Linked DNA regions of Homo sapiens: regions 1, 2, 3, 4, 6 and 7 are each linked to region 5. Evidence: promoter capture Hi-C in human tissues and cell types (Jung and others, 2019). All regions are on one chromosome and are shown on one strand. The core of a region is centred on a gene start or on the middle of the fragment in contact, and the rest is flanking DNA. Distances in the headings are between cores, read along the strand shown. Region 1 overlaps DTNA (dystrobrevin alpha). Region 2 has its middle 78 kb from the start of MIR187. Region 3 has its middle 53 kb from the start of MAPRE2. Region 4 overlaps GALNT1 (polypeptide N-acetylgalactosaminyltransferase 1). Region 5 holds the start of ZNF24 (zinc finger protein 24). Region 6 overlaps DTNA (dystrobrevin alpha). Region 7 overlaps LOC105372061 (a long non-coding RNA gene).

Region 1 (3,762 bases), core at 1,121-3,620, 500 kb before region 5:
TTTCTCCTAGTCCTTAAAGTAAGCCCATGGAGTAAATAAGATCATCCCCCTTTTATAGACAAGTAAAGGTATCATTTTAGAGAGCTTACCTGACTCTCCCTTAGTCCCACAGCTATAAAAAGTGGGGCAGAGATTTTAACCATTATCCATCCAAGTTCATAACCACTGTGTTTCATCACCTCTTTTAAAATCTGCATCAACACACGCCTTTCAGGATCTTTTGTGGATGCCTCCTTCACACTGCATCCTCCACGTATTTACTGAAACTGTATATCTTATTCTAGTGTTTTTATTTGATTTTAGCAAATATTTTGAGCACATACTAGTAACAGGAATGGTGATTCTTAACAAGTTACCTTTTATGTATGTAGTTCCTTGAGTTGTGACTTCTCATGTTAATTGTAAGCTTCAAAAAGGGCAAGAGTTTTGTCTTCAGTCTCTTTTATCTTATTACAACAGCTGGAGTAAGAATAATAAATTTTGTATTTATGAAATGCTCCAAAAATTACAAAGCCTTTTTCCACACATTATTTAATTTACTTCTCATAGTCCTAGAAGGTTGGATATGATTATTTCCATTTCACTGTTTAAAAAATATGAGCTTTGAGACATTAAGTGACTTATCCAAAGTCACATGCTAGTAAGGGCTTGCAAACAGGTCTTATGACACTGGTTCCCATCTATTTTCCACCCCATTCCTTGGCCTCTAGCTGTTCTCCATCAAAAGCTTTGTTTTTGCCATTATTCAGACCTAATCCTGATTAACTCTGTGTGGGGGTCTTCTACCCTATATTAACTACTTAACACACTGGGAAACTGACTTATTTGTAATAGTTTGCTGCTAAAGAAACACTTATGTCATTGCTGGTTCTGTCAGATAAGTCAAATAAATAAACTGCAGCTCAAGGGAGAATTTCTGCTTCCTTCCTAATTCAATGAAGTTTTAAAAGCCTTAATAATTTGTATGCACCTTCCTCATTGCAGGAGAAGGAGTCTGAAATGTGATACAGTGTGGGCTTTTACTACCCTCCCCCAAAGCTTGTCAAATTCCTGGGCTTGCTAGTTTATACCAAGGTCTGTAGTAGACCAACCAAATGATTTGAAACCAGCCCAGAACTTCTACCTCTAACATTGTCACTTGATTAGACTCCTGATGTCATATGACTAGGTTAAAATTGTTCTGCTTATATTTTTCTCAAGTACAAGAAAGTGTACATTTGTGTTGTCAATAGATTTCTTGTTAAGTGGATTAATAATCCATCTAGTTTAAAATTGCTCCACAATATTTTATGCTTTGGGAAAAAAGACATCTAAGAATGCCTATTTCAGAATTTCATTTATGAGGTCTAAATTTTTATTAGCTTGCATGCTTAGAACTCTTTAATAGATTCCTATTGGACCTAGTTTACAACCCAGACCCCTCACCATGGTGTACAAACCTGCATGTGACTTAGCCCTTGCCTACTCCTTTCTCAGCCTCAGATCTCATGGGGTTCTCCCATTCAATCACTACATTTAGTCATGTCAATTTTTGATCAATTCCTCCAACGAACCAAGCTCTTTCCTGCCTCAAGACTCCAATACTAGTTCTCCCCTCTGTCTAGAACATTCTTTCCCATTTCACCCCTACTATATGCACATGAACTTGCTTGTCTAGCTTCCAATCTTAGATTAAAGACACCTCCCCCAGTAGGTCCTCTATATTAGTCTCTATTATAGCATACTATTTTTATTTTCTTCTTATCAGCTGCAGTCATTGTTTGGTTGGTTAGTTGGTTAGCTGTTTGGCTGGTTAGCTCATTGGTTGGTTGGTTGGCTGACTGGTTAGTTGGTTGGTTGGTGGCTGGTTGGTTGGCTTACTATTTACTGTATCTTCAGTGGGGCAGGGACCCTCTCCAACTTGTTCACCACCTTATCTCTGACATCTAGCACAGTGCCAGGCACATAGTAGGTGCTCAATAAACATCTGTTGATATTGTAGAATATCAGTAGTGCAGTAGCTAAAAAAATTCCATCTTCCCCTAAACAAAGTTGTTAGGAGTAGTCAGAAACTTTACTAGCAAAATTAGAATTTTTACTATTTAAAAAAATCACTATTATAGAGTAGCACTTAAATTGAACATTTAGTATAGGAGTATAAAATAGATGAAAAATTAAAGTATTAAGCTTTGTGTAGTGGTAGACATGGGCAAAGATAAGCACCAGCAATTCACTGATGTGAACAGAGCAACTAATAGGGCATTCTAAAATTTTTTTAAAAACTTAAAGTGATAATTGGGCAAGAATTTTTTTTTAATTTTAATGCCCCCCTAGATTCTTCATCTTTGTATTAGTTTGCTAAGAATGCCAAAGCAAAATGCCATAGACTTGATGGCTTGAACAACAGAAATTTATTTTCTCACTGTTCTGGAGGCTGGAAGTCCAAGACTAAGGTGCCAGCAGGGTTGGTTTCTCCTGTCCTTGACTTGCAGATGGACACCTTCCTGCTGTGTCCGCAAATAACCTTTTTTCTCTACCCTAGTGTCTCTTCCTTTCCTTAAAAGAACAGCAGTCCTATGAGATTAGGGCCCCACACTATGACCTCATTTAACTGTAATTAAAGGCCCTATCTCCAAATATAGTCACATTCTAAGGTACTGAGGGTATTCATATGCTTTAGCATATGAATACTGGGGGAGACACAATTGAATCCATAACCCACTTCCCCACTGAATCCACTGAATTGTATGCCTTTAATATTTTTAATGTGTAGGTCAAGATTTGACTGACTCTTTTTAGTACATTTTGTTGATTTTGAAAAATGTGAGTTTATTGCAATCTGTTGAAAGAAAAAAGAAATTATAATCTGTTGAAAGAAAAAAGAAGAGTTACCTACACTTACTGACAGTGTCTCTTTTATATGAGTTTTCATTTCCTGTTAACACGACTCCTTTTGTTTAGTAAAATTTTTAGGAACTTCAATTATAGAACTGGACTTCTGAGAAAGATATTTCCTTAGAATCCTGGAAATATAAATCTAAAGACTGTCACATCAGGAACAGTTGGAGTAGAAGGAAATGGAGGAGTCTGAGAGTTTTTAGAAGATAGAATGCATGACCTCAACTGTAACATAGGGGGTTGTTGAAGTCAGGGTCTCAATAAAGGAGTTTAAAGGTCTCCTTTAAGGAAGCCATTATTGTGGTAAATTCTTATTGTTATCCATGAAGATTGCCATTTCATGATTTCCTGTCTTTTTTTGTTGTTATTCCAAACCACTCACAAAGGGCCACTACACTAAGCTTTGAGAGTTAGTTTCTTTCCCCATTCTTCAGTACTGTAAAACCATTTCTCGGTCCCCAGTGTCACTTTGTTCCTTTCTACCCTGACTCTCTTGAGCTCACTGACTTCTAAATGCCAAAAAAAAGTGCTCTATTCCCTTAGCATTTTGCTCTAAACCAACTGCCAAAGATAGAGAATAATCTAATAAAGCAATCTTCCATTTGAGTTAACTAATCCTCTTAATAGAAGAGTAGTACATGAAACTCGATGGCCTTCTAAATTAATTTCTAGTGATAAAATTCCCATCACTAGCCAGAGTAGTAGAAAAAATATGAAAAGAAAATATAGAAGCATTTATATATGCTTTTGCTTTTGCATTTATATATGCTATATGCTTTGGATCACAGTATTTTCTGGTTGACTACCCTAACTTAGAAAGCAGAACAGGCCCAGAAAAAAATCAAAAGAATGTGAACAAACCGTGAGTTCCCAAAAATCTTTGCT
Region 2 (3,761 bases), core at 341-2,840, 480 kb after region 5:
AGTAGATGGGAATGGGAGGAGATGTGTTATAGCTATTCATTCAATTCTTTGAACTCCTTCCAATTTTATGCCAAAAATCACAAAGAAATATATCATCAAATAATTTAAATGTAGAACTTTAAAAAATTTCCCTTGTCTGTAATATGCCAAGTATTAAAATATTTCTTCTCGATTGAATTAAAAATTATTCATATTATGTATTTTATTAAAATGATATGTCATTTTATGTATTATGACTTTTTAAAGCGGTTATTAAACATAGAAAAGTTAAGAAAGGCACTTCCAAAATGTTACTTTCAATAATTAGCTTTCAAAAAATTGATGCAGGCATTATGTCACAGGAAAATGGTTAAAGTGTTCACTTCAATTATTATACATATTCTGTATGACAAAGAAGTACATTGGGTGATGAATAAAGCTTAAGCATTTTATAATAGGATAAAATACTCAGGAAAATAGAATGGAATAGGGGTGCTGGAGACTGATGCTTGGAGCTAGAGACCAGGGTCTGGGAGCTGAGGAGTCTAGGGATTGGTGGCTGGGGACAGAGGAACCCAAGCTGGGGATTTGGGATCCTGACATATCCCTTCTCTACACCCAGCTTTCTTACCCCCAGCCTCCATTTCTTTTCAACATACCATTTCTCAAATGATCCTGAAAGAAGACATTGTTCTTTTTTGCCATTTTTCACATTTTTTTCAATGTGTTCATATTCCTCCATTATCCTTTTCAAATGCTGAGGGCTTTTGACTCTTACAAGAGCCCTGTTCCTCCCCAAATGTGACATTTTTATTTATTTATTTATTTATTTATTTTTTTGAGATAAGGTCTCACTCTGTCACCCAGGCTGAAGTGCAGTGGCACGATCACGGCTCACTGCAGCATCGACCTCCTGGGTTCAAGCAATCCTCCCACCTCAGCCTCACAAGTAGCTGGGATTATAGGTGTGCGACACTATGCCTGGCTATTCTTTTTATTTTTTATTTTTTGGTAGAGACAGGGTCTTTCTATGTTGCCCAAGCTGCCCAACTGTGATTTAAAACAGCTCCGCCTCTGCTGCCTAGGATATTTACACCTGCCTAGGACCAAAACCCAGAGACACGGGCATTATATTTTAAGAGTCTAGAGTGGCCAAGTGTGGGGGCTTACGCCTGTAATCCCAGCACTTTGGGAGGCTGAGGTGGGTGAATCACTTGAGGCCAGGAGTTCTAGACCAGCCTGGCCAACATGGCAAAACCCTGTCTCTACTAAAAATACAAAAATTAGCCCGGCTCAGTGGTACGTGCCTGTGGTCCCAGCTACTCGGGAGGCTGAGCCATGAGAATTGCTTGAATCCAGGAAGCAGAGGTTTCAGTGAGCCGAGATCACGCCACTGCACTCCAGCCTGGGTGACAGAGCAAGACTCAGTCTCAAAAAGAAAAAAAAAAGAGTCTAGGGTCATGTGACGTCTCTTCCAGACAGCTGAAGACAAGAGACCTAAACAGGGACCTAAGAGCACCCAAATATCCCACAGTCTAGGGTTTCCAAACAAATCTCTCAGAACCTCAAGGGGAAAGCTGAAGAGTCACCTCTCCTCTCAGAACCAGAATTACTTGCCTCCCTTTGAACAGTCTTAATGAAATGGAAATGTTAGGAGGCAGGAAAACAGAAATCAGCTCAAGGTTTCCTCCCATCATTTATTCCCTATGAAAATTCAGAACCAATTAGAGAACATTTTCTAATAATAAACTCACTGTCACCAGTGGTGTTAGCAAAACATAATCTGTCATTAAATTATTGTCCTTGAGTTTCGTTGATTTTATGGCTGAAATTTTATTTTGGTTTTCTATAGCCATGAGCATGTGTTTTATGTTGGCATTTGCTATAAAAAATAATTTAAATTCACACAGGGAGTCTGAAGGGGGTCTGTACCCTTGCTCAAAGTTGAAAAACACTGCCTTAATGTATTGTACTGTACAGACTTTGGAGAGCAGCAGTAATGAGAAAAGGAAAGCCAGGCCCCAGCTCAGACATGCTGTGTACTGCTGCCCCAGAGAGAGGAACTGGGAACCAGCACTGGTGACATTCACTCCAGGGGGCTGTGGGGTAGGTGTGGGAGGGTTGCTCCAGGAATGTACAAGGGGGTAACTGCACCATACCGTGCAGCACTCAGGACTCTCATCTGCTAGTGGCAGACATCTCAACTAAGACTGGCTCAGGCCCATAGGGAATATCCCTGCTTTGGGAGGGCCCCAAGCCAGCTGGAATCTCCAGGATAAGTTCAGGACCCTTCCTTCTTTTGCCCTGATGCCCTCTGCATTTAGTTCCATTTTGGCCAACATCAGGAGGGATTCCTCCACTGGGGAGTGGGGGCAAAGCTTCAATTTAACATCTTCCCATCTTGGCACCCACAACAGAAGTAACCTTATTTCTTCCATGGTCTGCATATTATCTGGCCAAGAGCATGTAGACCAGCTTAAATCCAGGAAATAGCCCAGACCTGAATCCTGTGCCTGTCCCATGGCCAATGAGAAGGGGCTGGTACTACAAAAAGGGGATGAAGGGGAAACTATGCTGACCAAGGCAATAGCCCCATCATTCACCACCCTAGTGTGCCTGCTGGACATGTTTCCATAAACCCCAGTCCCTCAGCAATACCAAATACTGGCAGGCAGAGTGGTACCCTGTGGAAGTATTAAAGAAAAAATTGTTTCTACATTTATTAAAATAAGGAAGAATTTATTCAAGACTATTACAATAAGATTATTTCAATAGAGATGAGAGATTGGGCTCAACTTTGAATACAGCAAGGACCAGCAGGTATTGATAGCTGTAGGAGACCAGAATATGACATCTCCAAATATGACTGCAGAGAACCAGAATATGTCACCCCAAGACAGGCCTTTTTGTCATAAGAATAATTTTAAGAAACTGCAGTCACAGGAGAAGCACTGAAAACAGAGTGGGAGTTACCCTTTTGTAAGGGAAATTTACATCTGTAAAGGAAATCTCCATTTGTAATGGTGCCCTCCTCTCTGTACCAGGAAAGAAGGATGACTAAGCCACTAGAGACTCTTACTGATGGAGAAAGCACTGACTTAAATTTGCATAACAAACCTTATCCTTGTTGACCAAGCTTTTTCTAGTCACCTTCCCATAATCCACCTCCCCCACACTCTTCTTGCTTTGTTTCAGCAGATAATGGTATTGAAGCCTGAATTTACAGGCAGCTCTCAGAGATTTATTCATTTCACTGGGCATGAAGCCAAGGGCAAACCTGACTAGGCTCTTCAGACTTTTACCTGCTTTTCTTGCTTTTAGCTGTTTTTTTGTTTGTTTTGGGTTTGTTTTGTTTTGTTTAAAGACTCCTTTCAGCCTCACTATAGATAACTTATCTGACTATGGGTCACAAAGGTAATGATTGCCTAAGTTGTTTTTCAGGAACTTAAAGTCAGCTCTTGTCCAGTTCAAACTGGTTGAAACCACCAACCCTTCAACTGGGCCTGTGTAAATGTCCAGTGGGTGACCTTTTGACATCAGAGACCTGAGAGCTCCAAACTCAGATCATGCTAACACTACCATTTTTCAAACATGCATCCTATGAAGAGCCATGAAGCTTGACTACGCTTATACAGAACACCGATTATCTCACTTTTCCTTATCCCCAATCACTTTTCCCCATGCCTCAGACCACTCTGCTCCTCTAACCCATAAATAACCCTAAACCCCATCTTTGGGGAGGCGATTTGAAATCTATTCTCTTGTCTTCTTGCTTGGCTGCC
Region 3 (3,239 bases), core at 115-2,614, 360 kb before region 5:
GGCAACTCGGTCAGTGGGTCTGTTAATTCTCCATCCCAGCACCTGACCTTCAGCACTTCAAGATAAATTTGGAGGTATGCTTTTCTGTAGAGTTGCCAGGTAAAATGCAGGATAACCAGTTAAATTTGATTTTAGATAAGATTTGTTTTGGTGTATCTGAATTTGAATTAACTGAGCATTTCATTTTTCTGTTATTTGGTTTTTAATTTTTATTTTTGCTAAATTCAGCAATCCTACTTTTATGATACAATAGATTTCAAAATGACTAGCTTTCCTGGTCTGTAAAAGATCTGAGGTTATATTTATGAGATAATGAATTAAAAATGTCTTAGCTGCCTTCACTTACTCAAGGAAAAAAAGCCATTAACTGAAGTTTTTTTGCACAATTTACTAGATTGAGAGGAAATAAAAAGTAAAACAAGAACTAGAAAATTAGCAATGTTTTTAATTTTGTAAGATATTTTAAAGTACTTTCTATTCTTTCACCAATTTTTTAATAGAATAAATACTTCAATAGGTATATTGTTAGTTCAAGTAGGGCTAACATGAGAAATCCATCAACGATGTCAACAGTATGTTCCTAATCAAAGTGAGATTCCAAGTGATTGCAATGATGCCTTGCTACCTAGATGAGGCATCAGCATCACCTAGGAGTGTCTTAAAATGCAGAATTTGAGACTCCATTCCAGACTTCCCCAATCACAATCTTCACGTTAACAAATGAACACAGGTGAATCACATGCGTGTTGAAGTTTGAGAAGCCCTGAACTAGAGGATTCACTTTTTCCACACATTAAATTGGTATTTTTGTTTAATACCTTGTTGAATAATCCTTAATAAGCTGTCTCTTTTAACCCCCTAGAAGATAGATAAAATATCTTCCAGGTATGAAATCATTGTATTTCCATTTTATTCATATAAAATTCCTAAATGGCCATTTATAATATTATGAATCAATGTGAAAAAATATTATTTTTTGAGACAGGGTCTCTCTCTGTTGCCCAGGCTGGAGTGCAGTGGTACAATCACCATTCACTGCAGCCTCCACCTCCCAGGCTCAAGTGATCCTCCCACCTCAGCCTCTTGAGTATCTGGGACTATAGCTGCATGCTGCCATGCCCAGCTAATTTTTGTATTTTTTGTAGAGACGGGGTTTCACCATGTTGCCCAGGCTGGTCTCGAACTCCTGGGAACAAACAATCCACCCACCTCGGCCTCCCAAAGTGTTGGGATTACAGGCATGAGCCACCGCACCTGGCCTATAAGTCAACTTTTTCAAAGACCTCATGGAATAAATGAACAGGCTAATATATAATTCTGGATTTTCCTTGATTAACCTGTAAATTAGGTGGATCATAATTCCTGGCACTCAGATCACCAGCAAATCTCTTTTGTTTTTCATTTTATTATTGTAACTTACAGAACAGTATTTATATACCAATACCACATATTCATATACTTGTATCCCCAGATTCCTCTAAAACTGGACAAAAGGAGATCCAGTTGGGTCTATGGGAGATTCCAAACTATTCTTGTGAAATTTAAAGTTTTTAAAAGTAACAAAAAGAGTCCATAGATAATTCTTTTTGAGTTCTAAAACCTCACTTCTTTATGTCTGCTTTCCTGTCTTTTAGAAATTATAGTATTGTATCATAGAATGAATTCTGAAATTGGAGCAAGAATGCCAAGTAGCTTGAGTTTTAAAACTGGTTCTGCTGCTAACTGGGTGACTTTAGAGATGTTATTAACATCCTTCATCAACATCCTTCAAATTGAGTTTTTTCATCTGTCAAATAGAGAAAGCGAAGTCTGACAAGAGTTACAAGATCAGATAACATCTGTGTACATCTTTATGACTGTAGGACGTACAGTGATGTCCTAAGACTTGTTTAATGATCTGCTTCATATAGGGCTGCAGTTGACTATTATAGGATGTGGTTTCCTGCAACATGCCTGATTTTGAAGAAGGGTGATCTACACACTGGGAATGAAGCCACAGAGCATGTATGTTACATGTAGCTGCTGGCTATATATGTCCACGTCAGCCACACACTCCCTTCTGCTCCTCAGAACCTTAAAGTTCTCCTCATGGCTGGGGAACAGTGATGTGCTCCAGGGCTCCAAGCAATGGATTCCTCAGCAGACATTGCTCTGTGAAATCAAAAGGCAGGTTTTCTTTTCTTTTGTTTTTTTCTTCTAGAATTCTGTATAATCTTGCCTGCACTCTCTCTCAGGAAATGATTATTACCACATTATTACATAATTGTGATTAGTTATTAAGTAGCTTTTTATCTTATCCAATCATACAACCCCAAATTGGAAGAGCCTGCACAGTCATTTTCTTAAAACATCCCAGGGCAGAATTTCCACTACTAGCACACAAAGGAGAAATCTATTTATCCTTTTGTTGTTTTAATAAACATAAGTTCATTAGTGAGAGCCCAAACCAAAAAAGGAAGGAGGGGAGTGGGAGGAAGTACTCCTAATGTTAACCACCCTCATGCAACTATTACAAAAACTATTTTTATTATTGTGTAAAGTTCTTCTTGTCTGTATTTACATTCAACAATGTCTTACATAAAATGTTCCCTTAGCATTTGTAATGTTCCCTTTATCCAGCTTAATGTCTCTAGCTTTGGGGTCTTTGCCTGTGCCTTCTCTCGGTCTTCTATCCTGGATGTCCTAGTTGATTCAAGCTTGGACTTTGTCTTGTCTCAGGTTCTTGGTATGCAAAATGTGTGGTTCACCTGTGTGTGGTGGCTCATGCCTATAATGCCAGCATTTTGGGAGGCTCAGGCAAGAGGATTTATTGAGGTTAGAAGTTCAAGACCAGCCTGGGCAACATAGTGAGACCCTATGTTTACCAAAAAATTTTGAAAAAATTGCCAGGCATGGTGCCGTACTTATAGTTCCAGATGCTTGGAAGGCTGAGGCAGGAGGATCACTTGAACCTGGGTGTTCAAGGCAGCAGGGAGCTATGATCACGCTACTGCACTACAGCTTGGGAAGCAGAGTGAGACATTCCCTCTCTCTCTGTCTTTTTTTTTTTAAGTTGTGGTCCATTGACCAGTGGCATCAGCATCACCTGGGAGCATCTCATAAATGCAGAACCTCAGGGTCTTCTGCAGACATTCTCATTCAGAATCTGCACTTTAGGAGGATCCCCCGGTAATCTGTTGTTTGGCATTAATATTTGAGAAACATTGATATGGAAAGCCTTTCCTAACCTCCTAACCATG
Region 4 (3,356 bases), core at 785-3,284, 350 kb after region 5:
GAGAGGTTGTGATAGAGATGTTAACTTAGGTTGTCAGCATATAGGATGGTTTTTAAAGCCACAAAACTGTATGAGGTCACCTGAGGAGGAGAAAATGTTAAGTATGAGAGAGAAGACCGAGGACAATGCCAGAGGGAATGCCACAGTTTAGAAATCATGGAGATGAGAAGGAATCAGCAAAAAAGATTGAGAAGGAGTAGGCAGTGAAATAGGAGAACCTAGAGAGTGGTGTCGCCAAGACTAAGGGAAAGACGTGTTTCAGGAAAGAGGAAGTGATCAGCTGTATCGAATACTGCAGAGAAATTGAGGAAGATGAGTACTTAGAATTGGTTATTGCATTTGGCTAGGGACATGTTATCAGTAGCCTATCTCACAGTGTTGAGAGAGTTCCCCATGGATGTTGTTAAAAACTCTGTTTTGAAGAGAGAATGGAAGAAGCAACATAGATGAATGTGTACAAGTCTTGCAAGGAATTTTCTTGTAAAAGAGAGAAGATAAATAGGTGGTAGCTGGAGGAGAATATGGGCTTAAAGGGGTTTTTATTTCTTTATTAAGATAAAACTGTGCTGATATGAGCAACCCAAAAGAGAAAATTTAAAGATGCAAAAGAAAGAGCCAACTTAACACCCATTAGAATGGCCACTATCAAAAAAACAGAGAATGACACATGTTGGCAAGGATACTGAAAAATTGGAACCCTTGTGCATTGTTGGTGTGAATGTAAAATGGTACAACTGCTATTTAAAAATAGTATGGAGGTTTCTCAAAAAATGCTCAAAAAAGAGAACTACGATATTATCCAGCAATTCCACCTCAGGGTATGTATCCAAAGGAAATGAACGCAGGGTCTGAAGAGTTACTTTTACTTACATGTTTATAACAGCACTATTCACAATAGCCAAGAAGTAGAAGCACTCCACGTGTCCGTTCATTCTGGCCCAGCTAGCAATGCTTAGGCATTGTCCAAAATTGGGTCAGTTCAAAGTAAAAAACTCCTCCTTCTTGGTTCTAAAGACAAGCTACAGAGTGACTGCTATAAATCGTGATACAACGTACAATGGAATATTTTTCAGTCTTAAAAAGGAAGGAAATTCTGATACATGCTACAACATGGATGAACCTTGAGGACCTTATGTTAAGCATAATACGACAGTCACCAAAAGAGAAATGCTGTATGATTCTCCTTATATAAGGCAGCTAGAATAGTCAAACTCATAGAAACAGAAAGTAGAATGGTGGTTACCAGGGCTGAGGGAAGGGCCTAAAGAAGAGTTACTTCATGGGCATAGAGTTTCACATTTGCAAGATGAAAAAGTTCTGGAGATTTGTTTCACAACAGCCTGAATATACTTAACACTACTAAACTGTACACTTGAAAACAGTTTAGATGGTAAATTTTATGTTATGTGTTTCTGCACCAGAATAAAAAGAAAGAAGGGATCTGTTGTTATGGGTGTCATGTATTTGGGTGGATAGGAGGTGAAATCTGTACACAAGTAGAGGGTGTTGGGTGGGGGTGGGAAGAAGAGAGGTCATCTCTTATCATGGGGAGGAAGGTAGAGGAATGGGAACAAGTGCAGGGCAGCTGTAGGTTTGGAGGTGGAAACTGGCAGTTTGTGGTGGAAGTGTGAGGACCTTCTCTTCTGGTGGCTTGTTTCCTCAGTTGAACACAAGATTATGGGCTGAGAGTGAAGAAGGTGTTGGTGAGGGGGAATTGGGGAAAGAGAAAAGGATGTAAAATAGAAATGTAAGATAAGGGAAAGCAAGTAGATCACTGAAGGAAGCCAGATGGTGGAGAGTTGGTGAAGCCATCTGGCCTGGTGTTTTCTTCAGTGCCAGGGCAGGCACAGACTTACGCATTTATCCTAACAGTTACTAAGGCTACTTCAGGATTGACTTGAGCTCCCTACCTCTGAACCTTGTTGTGATTTAAGGAATTTGTTTTCAAACAAGTGAGGGCTACATTGAGTTTCTTGAGCCTTTCATTCTCACTGATGCCTCATTAATGGGAATGTGTTTTCCTTTGCTGTGACCTCGTACTGGTCAAAGAAGGCCCAGGGTGAGTGGTGCGCCAGGGAAAGATTTCTAGCAGTCACTCTGCAGCTTGTCTTTAGAACCAAAAATGAGGAGTTTTTTGTTTTTGTTTTGTTTTTTTTGAGCTGACCCAATTTTGGACAATGCCTAGGCATTGTTAGCTGGGCCAGAGTTCGGGCGTGTGACAAAGAAACACTTGTCTGCTCCATGGTAGATGACTGCCAAGGCAAGCTTGCGTCTTACCTGCCTCTTGCCAGCTGGCTTCTGGGCAAGTCGCAGCGTTTACCCTCTGTGGCCTGCTTGTTATCGCCTTATTAACTTAACAGCTGGCCTTAAGCCTTGTACGCCCTTAATACCAGGCCACATCCTACAGGTTAAAAGTGTCATTTCTAGATTGGAGGTCATTCTTAAGAGTACCCACCATAGTGCAGCCCAGGGATCTTATGCTTCTGATCACAGCTTCACCCATGTGAGCCTTCCTTTGCTAGCAACAGTAATTTAGCCTTTCATAGATCTCTTCTCATGCTTCAAGGGTCCAGGGAAACCTGAAATCATAGGATTTTTCAGCAGAAAGGGAAATCAGAAAATGTAAATATGACTAGGGTAATAGATATAATTTAGGGCATCTGGCTTCAGCTAACGCTGACGTTCGTAGTTCCTGTAGGACCTGAACAAATGTGTTTCATTGTGGTATCTGATAGTTGTTAACTCAGGAGCTGAGTATTCTAAACAACAAAAAGTAAACAATCTAGACCTTTACTGGTTTAGTCAGTTTTAGGGGCTGACCAATTGCTTTTCCAGGCAGATCTAATAATCCTAACATTTACTGAGCATGTACTTTATGTCAAGCACAAATCTGAATGCTTGATGAATATTAAAGCACAACACTATAGGATTGTGCTGTTATTTCCACTTCACAGATAAGTAAACTGAGACACAAATAAATGGTTTAAAAAACACGGCTAAACTCACAACCATCTGGTTTGAGAGCCTGTGCTGTTAACCCCTAATGTCCGTATTCTTTCTCAAATCTAACCAGTATTTCCCTTGCAGCAGAGAGTAGAAAAGTGAATCCAGATTCACTAATGCTAGATTATAAAAATGGTTTAACAAAGCTCTTACATTGTCCACCCTAATGGAGATACTGATTCTGGAGGAGACTAATAGTAGAAACAAAGAAACTTAAGCTCTAACCTCTTGCCTGGTTTTCCAAGAATGGGTGCATTCACAATTATTTTCAATTCCTAATGTCAAAAATAGTAGTTTTAAAGTGGCAGTCAGGTACAGCTAAGTTGCTACTTCCAAAGGGGGGTTGAAGAGTT
Region 5 (3,331 bases), core at 785-3,284:
AATTTAGTGTAGCCTAAGTGTTCAGTGTTTATATGGTCTATAGGAATGTACAATAATGTCCCAGGCCTCCAAATTCACCACTCACTCACTGACTTCTTAGAGCAACTTCCAATCCAGCGAGGTCCATTCATGGTAAGTGCCCTGTACAGGCATATCTTTTTTTTTTTTCAAACATTTTATATCATATTTTACTCTTATCTTTTCTATGTTTTGATACACAAATAGTTAGCATTGTGTTACAATTCTCTACAGTATTCAGTACAGCAACATGCCGTACCGGTTTGTAGCCTAGGCGCAATAGGCTATACCAGATAGCCTAAGTGTGTAGTAGGCTACGCCATTTAGGTTTGTGCAAGTACATTCTATGACGTTCACACAAGGATGAAATAGCCTAACATATTTCTCAGACCATAGCACTATCGTTGAGTTATGCATGACCTTATTTACTATATGGCCGCTTACAGAAAAAGTTTGCCAATCATGACCTACTAAGACGACAAACCCTATGTCAATAATCAAAAGAATCCAAGTAAGAACCAGACTACTTCAGTGCTTTCTAAATGTGCCTGACCCTGGAACGCATTATTTCCAATTCAGGATTGGTGTTTCCTGACACACACAAGTCAACTCAAAAGGAAGGTTCGCTTTATTATTATGTGCTTAAAAAAATTTTCTTTACCATTTAAAAAATATTTTTAAGGTGTTTAAGAACTCCTTGGACTTATATGTGAAAAAATGTTCACTTGCTGAGTAGCAGATCACATAATATTGAAAAGATCATATGTGAAAAACATCACATAATTTTGAAAAATTATCTTGCACATAATACGTAAATATTCAGTCTTCCACCACACCATACGTACATTTATATTTATAATGATAGGCATTAATCACAGAAACTTCTATTAAGAAAAGGCACTCGCATAAGCACCTTGACTTCCTGCAGTGGTCCAGTGTCTTGTCCTTACACTGGAGGACTCACAGTTTCCCCAGCTTCTACCTTCAGTGAAACTGTATACTGCTTCTGGACCTTTATTATTTGCACGATCATGCCCGTGCTGTTGTTTACGACACATACTAGCAATGAGCCATTCAGCCTATTTATTTATTCAGGGCCCAAAATCTGAACAATAACAACTTAAAAAAACTTATTGTAACCCAAGCAAGATGAAGACTAGAATCAGAAAAGGCCTTATCAGACAAGTAATACATACTGGTTTAATTAAATACCCTGGAGTGTGGTGGCCTTATACATAAGGTCTAGCCAACATTCATTCGTTCCTATTCCAAGACCCTGCTTATCAACGGTGCAAGTATTTCTACATAATTTTCTCTTCCTTTTATGCTGTAGAGCATACCGCTTGTGGGAAATGGAGGGAAGGCCCACGGTCCCGACAATGTTTGGGCAGGGTACCTCGTCCCAGGTGGATCGCCCACCTTACTGCTGCATAGACCTGCTGTGTATCCCGGCCCCGGCCCCGGCCCCGGCCCGACGTCCTCTAGCCCCTCTTCCCAGCACTCAGGACCGCGGATTTCAGATGACCAAAGGCCACCCTGTGACAACAGCGTCGGAACCACGGCACTTCCGCCTGCGGCCGGTGAGACTACAAATCCCAGAAGCCCCGCGCAAGTCTCGTCCCACTACCACCCCCTCCCATCACGACTCCCAGAACCCTCCGCGAGACGCCAGGGCCTCGAAATAGAACAAAACCGGCCGGTGGGGGAGGGGGAAGGTGAGGGTCTCGGAGGACACAGGGGGTTAGAGAGCTCTCTGCAAATGCCGAAGACCCAAGCAGGCCTGCCGCCTACCCCTCCCCGCCCCACAACTGCTAGGCGCGGAGACCGCGGCCTGTTCCCCGCGCCTCCCGGGAAGCTGAGGAAGGTCCCGGACAGGCTTCCCCGCCGGCTCCTGCTAAGAGGTCCGCAGACCCTAGCCCGGTGTCCCCCCTCCCTCTCATAACGTTCCCCGCACACCGGCGCAAACCTCCGGCTCAGGAACCGCAGCAGCTTCGCTGTCCACGGCAGACGCAGAAACGCCGTTCACAAGCCTTTTCCCAGAAGCCCCCGGCGCGGGCTGCTTCCGGTCTGCGGGCCTGAGGAGGCGGGGAGAGGTAAAGCCCACGTTGCCATGGAGAAGCGCCCCGGGCGGGGGAGGGGCGGCCCCACGACAATGACCGCATTGAGGCTGCGCTTGGCCTCGCGCCTCTCCTCGAACAGCCCAGCGTCCTCTGGACCGTTTAAAAGAAAACATAAAGAGGACTCTACCATTAAGATAGTCCTTACAATTTCGCAAGCCCTTTCACGTGCATTATCTTGTGGATCCTCTCAGTAATCCCCTGCAAGAAGGAATGAAAGTGAGTGTTTGTGAAAGCTTACTACATTGTGCCAGGCGCTCTCGTCGTGCTTTACATGTCATTTTTTTTTCCACAAATAAATGATGTAGGAACTTTCATTATCCCCATTTCACAGCTGAGATAGTTGAGGCACAAATACAGTAAATAACCTGACAAGAGCTCACAACTCATTTGTGGGTAGCAAGATTTGAAACCAAGACGTGATTCAAATCTTTGGCTCCCACTAGTTATGTCATGGAGCTTTATTCCGACCTATTTATCTGTCAGGAAAACTAGATAAGACAGGTTAAGAGTTTTGGCAGTGATGTCACGGTGAATTTGTAGAATGCATGGTCATCTTAAAGCTGGGCATTTTATACCATAAAACAACTGCTGACGCGATCATTTAAAATTACAAATCAGACCACTTCACTCCCCTATTTAAAGCCCTCCAATTTATGTCATAATAATTTATGACATAAAAACTCCTTATAATGGCCTGTAAGTCCCCTGTGGTCTGTTGCCTGCCCGCACCCCCAGACCCTGGCGCCCCCAGTCACCTCAGCTCCTCGGCTCATTGTGGCCCAAGATCCTCAGCCTCACCACCTGCCTTTCATGGCGCATGACCCTTCATGGCACTGTTATTAATGGAAGTGATCTCATTTATTTACTTGTTTTATTTTTTGTTTTGTTTTGTCTTTAAGTCCCTTAAGGGCAGGGACCTTGTCTGTCTTGCTCACCACAGTATCCCATCCTAGATCCTGGAAGCTGACTGCCTGGTAAATAGAGAACTCAATAAATATTTGTTGAATAAATAAATGAATTGTGGGATGGTTACATTGCTGCCTTTAGCTAGGTCACATGATTGGCATCAGACACCACACAAAGGAGCCCTGTTGTTTAAGGACTGGTCAAAAGTGTAGATCCAGCCTAACATAAGCATTTCAAGATCCTCAGGCTTTGACTTTTTGCCTCATTGGAGAAAATGCCCTCTGAAA
Region 6 (3,395 bases), core at 834-3,333, 460 kb before region 5:
GAAGCCTACTCCTTTATTTGCAGGTCATAAAAAAATCTAACGAGTCATTCTTTATTTCTTCAATTGTATCTGCTAGAGGTTGGGAGTGAAACAGAGAGTAATGTGGATTCTGAATTTGCACGGACTCAGTTTGAGGATCTTGTTCCCTCACCAACCTCTGAAAAGGCTTTTCTAGCGCAAATCCATGCCCGAAAACCTGGGTACATTCACAGTGGAGCTACCACAAGTACCATGCGTGGCGACATGTGAGTATCTTCCGCTTGGAAGCATTTTCTCAGTAACAAAACAATCTGTAGGAGACAATAAGAAAGTAAAAGCATAATTGTTTAGGGTTTTTTTAACCTTCAGAAGGGGTGACATAGTTTTCTGTTCTGCCAGAGATATAGAAGGGTGCTACATTTAAATTCGGCATTGTAATATTTCCCCTCTTACAATTTCCAGAGAGTTATCAATAACCTAAACCAACCAGTGCCTATCAAGAGCCTGCCTTGCCCAAGGCACATTGCTAGTGCTATACAAAATAGTATTAAAAAACTGCTGCCACCCTTTTAGGACTCACAGACTAGTTCAGGAGATAAATCATCCTATCTTCTGAACTTATTGTATTTGCACTTAGAGGATACCATGACATTGGAGAGGTCTCTGTCCAGAATTGGTGTAAACAACATCACATAAGTATTTGGAATTGAAATAAGTACATGTATAAAATCTCATTATAAAGAAATCCAGTTTGGTTGACTTGTTGAATTTGTATGAATCTGACCCTCCAAAGACTTATTTGCAAAAGTTTTCACCCAGTTCTGGAGCTTGTCAGAAACCAGCAGCATCAGTAACGTCCCCACTAGACTTTCTGTGACCCTGGATCAGCTCAAATTAGTCAACAGAGAAAACCAAAGCTGAGAAACAAAGGCAAAGCTGGGACAGAGCTGCAGAGCCCAACTTGGGAGAAAAAGGAGAAAAACAAAAGAAATGAAGAAAGTGGCCCATTAAATGACCATGGTTCATGGAGTTATGGGAAATGTGGGCAAAGGCTGACCCAAAAGCTGGGGGAGGGAGTTTCTGAATGCTAAAAATACTTCAGAAGGGTGATGTTGCTTAATATGAAAAGTACTTCAGACTAGTCTATAAAAATAAACTGGCCATTTTAAAGACTCAGAGAAGAAACTAAACAGAGGCCTTTCTGGTGTTTGGCTCTCCATCCAAGCAGTGAATAAACAATCAGTAATCATGGAGAATTATCAAGAGGTGTGGTCTGAGAGTCAGCTATGAAGCAGCAGAGAGTAGGATCAAAACAAAACCATTATCATGGGACTTAACATGGCAGTACGCTGCTGCTTAATATAGTTTGCTTTCTTGTCCTTTCTTCTGTATTCTAGAATTGTTGGATTTGTTATTCAAAATGGTGAATTAGTTGTCATCTGTTTTGTCTGGTAAATTCATATCTATTTGACTTTTTATTATTAAGCATTTATATGGCAGTTAGCTAGAATTTCCTTGTCCTAATTCTAAAATCCAAGACTATTGAGGCCACCCTAATCTGCTAGCCCTGGTATGCTGAGTAGCAGTACCAGCTACCAACATGTGACTCAGGAGTTAGGGAAGGAAAGTTAACAGAGTCCTGGGCAGACCCATTTAGCCTGGCCCCAAACCTCCAAAAATAACCAGAACATGTTGTACAGCTATAAATAAACGCAAACAACGACATTTAAGTTCCAACCTAGAAACTTCTTCTTGACCACTTATTTCATTTTAGGGAATAATTTAATATTTCTATTGTCTAAACATGTACTTGTGTTTTACCCTGAGACTCTTTTAGTCCTATGATTTAGGTAGTGAGTTTATGTCCAGCCCCATGAAAAGCTTTGCATAGTCTAGGATGAATAGATGGAGACAGAGTCCCACATTAGGGAATGAGGTCATTTTTATCTATTTATTTGATAGTGGAATTGGATAATTAAAATGCTTTTTTTTTTTTTTTTTTTTTTTTTCAGATTTAGAGCTAAGGTCAAGAGTTATGGGTTAGTAGCCCTCCTGGCATTGACTAGCTGATATTCTAAGACTTAATTCTATAAAAATAAGGCATGAATGTGGTATGCATGCATATGTGTATGTGCATGTATGTGCGTATGTGTAACACAAAAGAGGTTAAATTATAACCAAATGTCCTTAAGCATTATTTCACTAGAGGGCTCACTCTCCACACAGAAAGTGATCTTGGGTTCTATTTTAAACAAGAATAAAAAGAGCCCTCAGATTGGGAAAACTTTGTATCCCCTCAAAAGATGTTTGCCATTTTTTAAATTATAGAACATTTAAAGGGCCAACCCATTCCAGTAAACCCTAGGAAAAGATAAATGACCAATGATCGCAACTGCCATAAAAAAATTGTGTATGAAAATACCTTGATCATATATCGCTTCAAACCTCCAAAATGTTTCCAAGTTTTTTTTAGGTATTACTAAAGAAGACATGAAAGTGACTTGGAGAACTAAGGGGAAATAAAGGTGCCAACGAAACTACAGCTCACACATGAATCCCGCTTGTAATTCTCTTTTAAGATTTGCTCTAACATGTCATCTGTGGTTTATTTTCAGGGTTACGGAGGATGCAGATCCCTATGTGCAGCCTGAAGATGAAAACTATGAAAATGACTCTGTCCGGCAGCTGGAGAATGAGCTCCAGATGGAGGAATACCTGAAACAGAAGCTGCAAGATGAAGCTTATCAGGTACAGGGATCCAGGCCCACCCCACCCCACCTCTTCTGCCTCAACCCCTTGGTAGCTGGGTCTTTGACATGACTTGCAGAATCAGAGCCTTCTTCCTTCCACCCTCCCTTTTCAAAATACACTGATTTCACTCCTTAATCCGTGTCTTTTAGACAGTAAACATTTTAAATACTTCTTTTTTTTTTAAGACAGAATTTCACTCTGTTGCCTAGGCTGGAGTGCAGTGGTGTGATCTTGGCTCACTGCAACCTCCGTCTCCCTGATTTAAGTGATTCTCCTGCCTCAGCCTCCCGAGTAGCTGGGACTACGGGCATGCACCACCACGCCCAGTTAATTTTTGTATTTTTTAGTAGAGAAGGGGCTTCACCATATTGGCCAGGCCAGTCTTGAACTCCTGACCTCGCGATCCACCCACCTCAGCCTCCCAAAGTGCTAGGATTACAGGCGTGAGCCACTGCACCCACTCTTATAGCTGTCACTCACCATGTATTCTTTTAAATTCTGCCCTAGAAAGTGATAAACAGCCTTCTTATATTGGAAAAAAACAAGGTAACTAACAGTCCAGACTCTTTCAGGCCCATTAAGAAAGATGCTTTTTCTCATAATTATTTTTAAATGGATACAAAGAACAGGGCACGAGGAAATTGAATAAGCATAAACCCACCACT
Region 7 (3,317 bases), core at 340-2,839, 410 kb before region 5:
CCATTCTCCTGCCTCAGCCTCCCGAGTAGCTGGGACTACAGGTGCCCTCCACCACGCCTGGCTAATTGTTTTTTTGTATTTTTAGTAGAGACGGGGTTTCAACGTGTTAGCCAGGATGGTCTCGATCTCCTGACCTCGTGATCTGCCCGCCTTGGCCTCTCAAAGTGCTGGGATTACAGGCGTGAGCCACCGCACCCAGCATGTCCTTGTATCTTTTGCACTCACTTGCTTTAGCTATGTGAGAACTGTGTATAAGCACAGCTTATCCTGAATAGCAGTCCACAATTTGCTGATACAGTATAATGTTAATAGTTGTAACAACTGTCCACTATGATGTATGAAAAACTACTGAGAATTTCTTCAACATCTGGGTATTCACATGGAAATCTATCATATGTGTATATCATAGATATGGCGAGAGGGAATATTCCCGGTTCTCATTTTCTGCTACATTTAGTCTAAAGCAAATGTGATTTTTCCCTTGGCTATACCTCTGTGATATAACGTTTTCATATTCAGTAACTTAATAATTCATATCTAAAATGTCAAGTTAATAACTTAGTCTCTCTCCTCTACTGAAACTATTTTTAAAATAATTTAATTTCTGTCATTAATTGTACATCCCATTCACTTGCATGAAACTACTAACCCAAAGCCCTCTATTAATAATGCAAACATTCTGCATCTATTTCCAACAGCAAACAGAAAAATAGACAGCATTTCAGTTCAAATATATCAATTCAATGATTTTTTAAAAATCCCAAATGCCCATTCATGACTCTATGTTATGTCAATATAAAATTGAAACCACAGCAGCATCATGGAAATATACTGACATAAATAACACATTTCTTATGAAGTACAACACTCACTCTTATGCAAAAAAAGTTATAGGAATTCAAATGACTTATTTAGGGAAGAAAAAAAAAGCCCACAGTGGTATTCCTTAAACCAATAATACACTTTCAAATACATCTAATAGTATGCAAGATCCCTTAGCCAGCTCTGATAAGTGCCAAATGCAGTTTGACCATTTATTTAAAATACTGTTCTCCATATTTTTATAGCAACATTCTTCCAATTGACAGGTCAGAGAAAATGGCTAATATGCAATATATGACCACATAACTTACATGAATTTCTCTAATTAGTGCCAAACTGTTTTCAATGAGTCTGTGTGTGAAAAAAAGAAATATTTATGTAATTTTAAATTGTCCTAAAGCAAAAAAGACTCTAGTTGCAAGGAAGTATTATATGATAGTGTTTTAATAAAAGCCAATTGAATAATAAAAAGAACTCCCAACACATCTGAAATCACTTATATCTCCTATTCCATATACAAAAGACAGATAAATCAATGTAAAGTTTATTTTATTTGAAATACAAACCACTTCCAAGCAGAGTATTCATCCAGAATGAATATTTATAAAAATTCTCTATTCTTCAAAAAATATATGTGTTTATAATGTCAAACTTTGCCAGAATCCTTAACTTTAAGGCTTATTAGTTGAACATTTTCTCACAACTTTGCTTGGGAGAAAAAGATTGGCTTATAAAAAATGCTTGAGGGTTATTTATAACTATTTTAGAAAAGCTAGTTAATAAAGATATTAAGTAAAAAATTCACCTAAAATCCTTTCCATGTTACAAAACGTGTTCTTAAATCATCTTTGTGGAGTTTCTAAAATAGTTTGATAGATAGACAAATGTCTATTTTTATTTCTGCTTAGCGTGTTTATAAATTGATAACAATTTATTTTATTTTATGGCCATTCAAATTTTAAATATATTCTGATTATAATCAAAGTGGCAGAACATGTAATAGTTTAAAAGAATAAATAATAAATGCAATTTATAGAAATATTGACATTAAAATTTTGATGATGATTATGATAATTGTCACATAAAACTTTACACAGAAAAATTATAAGAGCACTCAGGCCAGCCACTGGTTTTGACAATGTAATACAAAAATAGAATAGAATAGATACTTTGATATTAATTCTGGTATGCAATTTTATGTGGTTTGTATCTCTGGGACTTTGTACCACCTAGAATCCCTCCCAGCCAGCTGTTTGTAGCCCAATTATCTCAGTCCGGTTATCTCGTTCATGAAACCTCCAGGACTGGGTCTGAGGCTTCCCAGCTGTTCCCACGTATCCCATGTCTATCCCACTGCAGCACTCACCACACTGAATCATAATTGTCTCTTCATTTGGGAGTATATACCCTTAGCTAAGATTCTTGATGGCTGAGGCTAGGTTTAATTTCTTATGTATTTCTGGCTTCTGTAATCTAGTAGATGTTCAATAAATAATTGCCAATTACTACTAAATGGATGTCTACAAATATACAACATAAGGACTAGCACTTGAAAAACACGTAAACAATTTATTTTAGTATCAAGAACATATACGTTTTGCCTGGAAATGATAGTTCTGCCACCACACATCCAATTTAGAAGCCTGGCCAAGGGCTTAGGGAAAACAATATTATTTTGTTAGTATTCTGCCTGTTTAAACAATCTATACAATAGATTCCATACAATCTGCTTATAAACCTCATTTTTCTATGTATCTTAACAAAAAAAAAGTCATAAATTATAATTGTGTTGCTTGTTCTTTCATTTTAAGTACCATTTCATTTCTTAGCCTTAGTACCTCTCAGTGACTATTCCAAAATGCTGACATCCTTTTTGGGTCCCTAATTAACCCCCCACATCATCTTTAGTAGATGCCCTTAACTCCTTAAATTTGGTCTTCAACTCTGCCATTCCCTTCCATCCCCTCAAATTTTCTTCTTCTGATTATTCCCTTATCTCTTTCCCTCAAGCCTAAAATGGAAAGGTACCTGCTTCTGGATCTTGGACCCCACATCCTTTTACAATTTCTGGTCTTCCTCCATCAGTTAGAATTATTAATGTTAATCTTACTGGTTCATATGCATTCTAGTCTGTATTTTTTGTTAGGTCTTTATTTTCCCTCTTAAAATATAGTCAATTCTCATTATTCATGAGAGTTGTGTTCTATAAAGCCACCATGAACACTGAATTAGTAAATCCTGAACCATTGTTCCTAGGGGAAATACAGAGTTAGGTCCCAGCAAGCTTCTAACCACAACATTTTCATCAACGGATCAATACATAACCTTGTTTTTCTGTTTCTGTTTAAAAACACCTTATTTAATATATATTGCTGATTCATGAGCATTGAGCTCACAGCCAGTAGTTCTGTAACTAATGCCTGAAGCAAAACTGACACATATATTTTCTCTGTAAAGCATATTAAAGCTTTCTTGCACTTAAGAACACCAAACAG

Evidence for each region. Contacts are between HindIII fragments. The study calls those that stand out against the background at their distance.
Region 1: a contact is called between a fragment that was not itself captured here and the fragment with the promoter of ZNF24 in region 5, in 3 of the 25 tissues and cell types used here (dorsolateral prefrontal cortex, hippocampus and mesenchymal stem cells).
Region 2: a fragment that was not itself captured here is called in contact with the fragment with the promoter of ZNF24 in region 5 in 2 of the 25 tissues and cell types used here (lymphoblastoid cells and spleen).
Region 3: a contact is called between a fragment that was not itself captured here and the fragment with the promoter of ZNF24 in region 5, in 2 of the 25 tissues and cell types used here (dorsolateral prefrontal cortex and lymphoblastoid cells).
Region 4: a fragment that was not itself captured here is called in contact with the fragment with the promoter of ZNF24 in region 5 in 2 of the 25 tissues and cell types used here (hippocampus and mesendoderm cells).
Region 6: a contact is called between a fragment that was not itself captured here and the fragment with the promoter of ZNF24 in region 5, in 3 of the 25 tissues and cell types used here (dorsolateral prefrontal cortex, hippocampus and mesenchymal stem cells).
Region 7: a contact is called between a fragment that was not itself captured here and the fragment with the promoter of ZNF24 in region 5, in 1 of the 25 tissues and cell types used here (hippocampus).

Annotation. Positions count from the first base shown.
Region 1 is chr18:34,841,069-34,844,830 of GRCh38, forward strand. The region is part of intron 13 of DTNA (dystrobrevin alpha); the gene reads left to right. Among named protein-coding and RNA genes, the nearest start is that of DTNA-AS1, 75 kb to the left of the region's middle. The HindIII fragment of the contact is 3,608 bases long and covers 567-3,762 here.
Region 2 is chr18:35,824,620-35,828,380 of GRCh38, forward strand. No RefSeq gene overlaps it. Among named protein-coding and RNA genes, the nearest start is that of MIR187, 78 kb to the right of the region's middle. RefSeq lists an enhancer at 3,408-3,761. The HindIII fragment of the contact is 3,530 bases long and covers 1-3,355 here.
Region 3 is chr18:34,986,683-34,989,921 of GRCh38, forward strand. It overlaps a transcript of MAPRE2 not described here. Among named protein-coding and RNA genes, the nearest start is that of MAPRE2, 53 kb to the right of the region's middle. The HindIII fragment of the contact is 7,504 bases long and covers 1-3,239 here.
Region 4 is chr18:35,693,761-35,697,116 of GRCh38, forward strand. All of the region lies in intron 9 of GALNT1 (polypeptide N-acetylgalactosaminyltransferase 1), which reads left to right. It overlaps LOC105372064 (a long non-coding RNA gene), which reads right to left. Exons shown (of 5, transcript XR_935377.3): 3 at 3,229-3,356; 4 at 2,456-2,579. Among named protein-coding and RNA genes, the nearest start is that of MIR3975, 100 kb to the left of the region's middle. The HindIII fragment of the contact is 6,903 bases long and covers 1-3,356 here.
Region 5 is chr18:35,342,386-35,345,716 of GRCh38, forward strand. It overlaps ZNF24 (zinc finger protein 24), which reads right to left and starts at 2,035. Exons shown (of 4, transcript NM_006965.4): 1 at 1,975-2,035. It overlaps LOC124904283 (a long non-coding RNA gene), which reads left to right and starts at 1,669. Exons shown (of 2, transcript XR_007066337.1): 1 at 1,669-2,354. RefSeq lists an enhancer at 1,353-1,412 and a silencer at 2,093-2,262. The HindIII fragment of the contact is 10,533 bases long and covers 1,101-3,331 here.
Region 6 is chr18:34,879,475-34,882,869 of GRCh38, forward strand. DTNA (dystrobrevin alpha) reads left to right here. Exons shown (of 23, transcript NM_001386795.1): 20 at 77-245; 21 at 2,595-2,727. Among named protein-coding and RNA genes, the nearest start is that of DTNA-AS1, 110 kb to the left of the region's middle. The HindIII fragment of the contact is 4,098 bases long and covers 35-3,395 here.
Region 7 is chr18:34,934,828-34,938,144 of GRCh38, forward strand. All of the region lies in intron 1 of LOC105372061 (a long non-coding RNA gene), which reads right to left. Among named protein-coding and RNA genes, the nearest start is that of MAPRE2, 100 kb to the right of the region's middle. The HindIII fragment of the contact is 3,215 bases long and covers 1-3,197 here.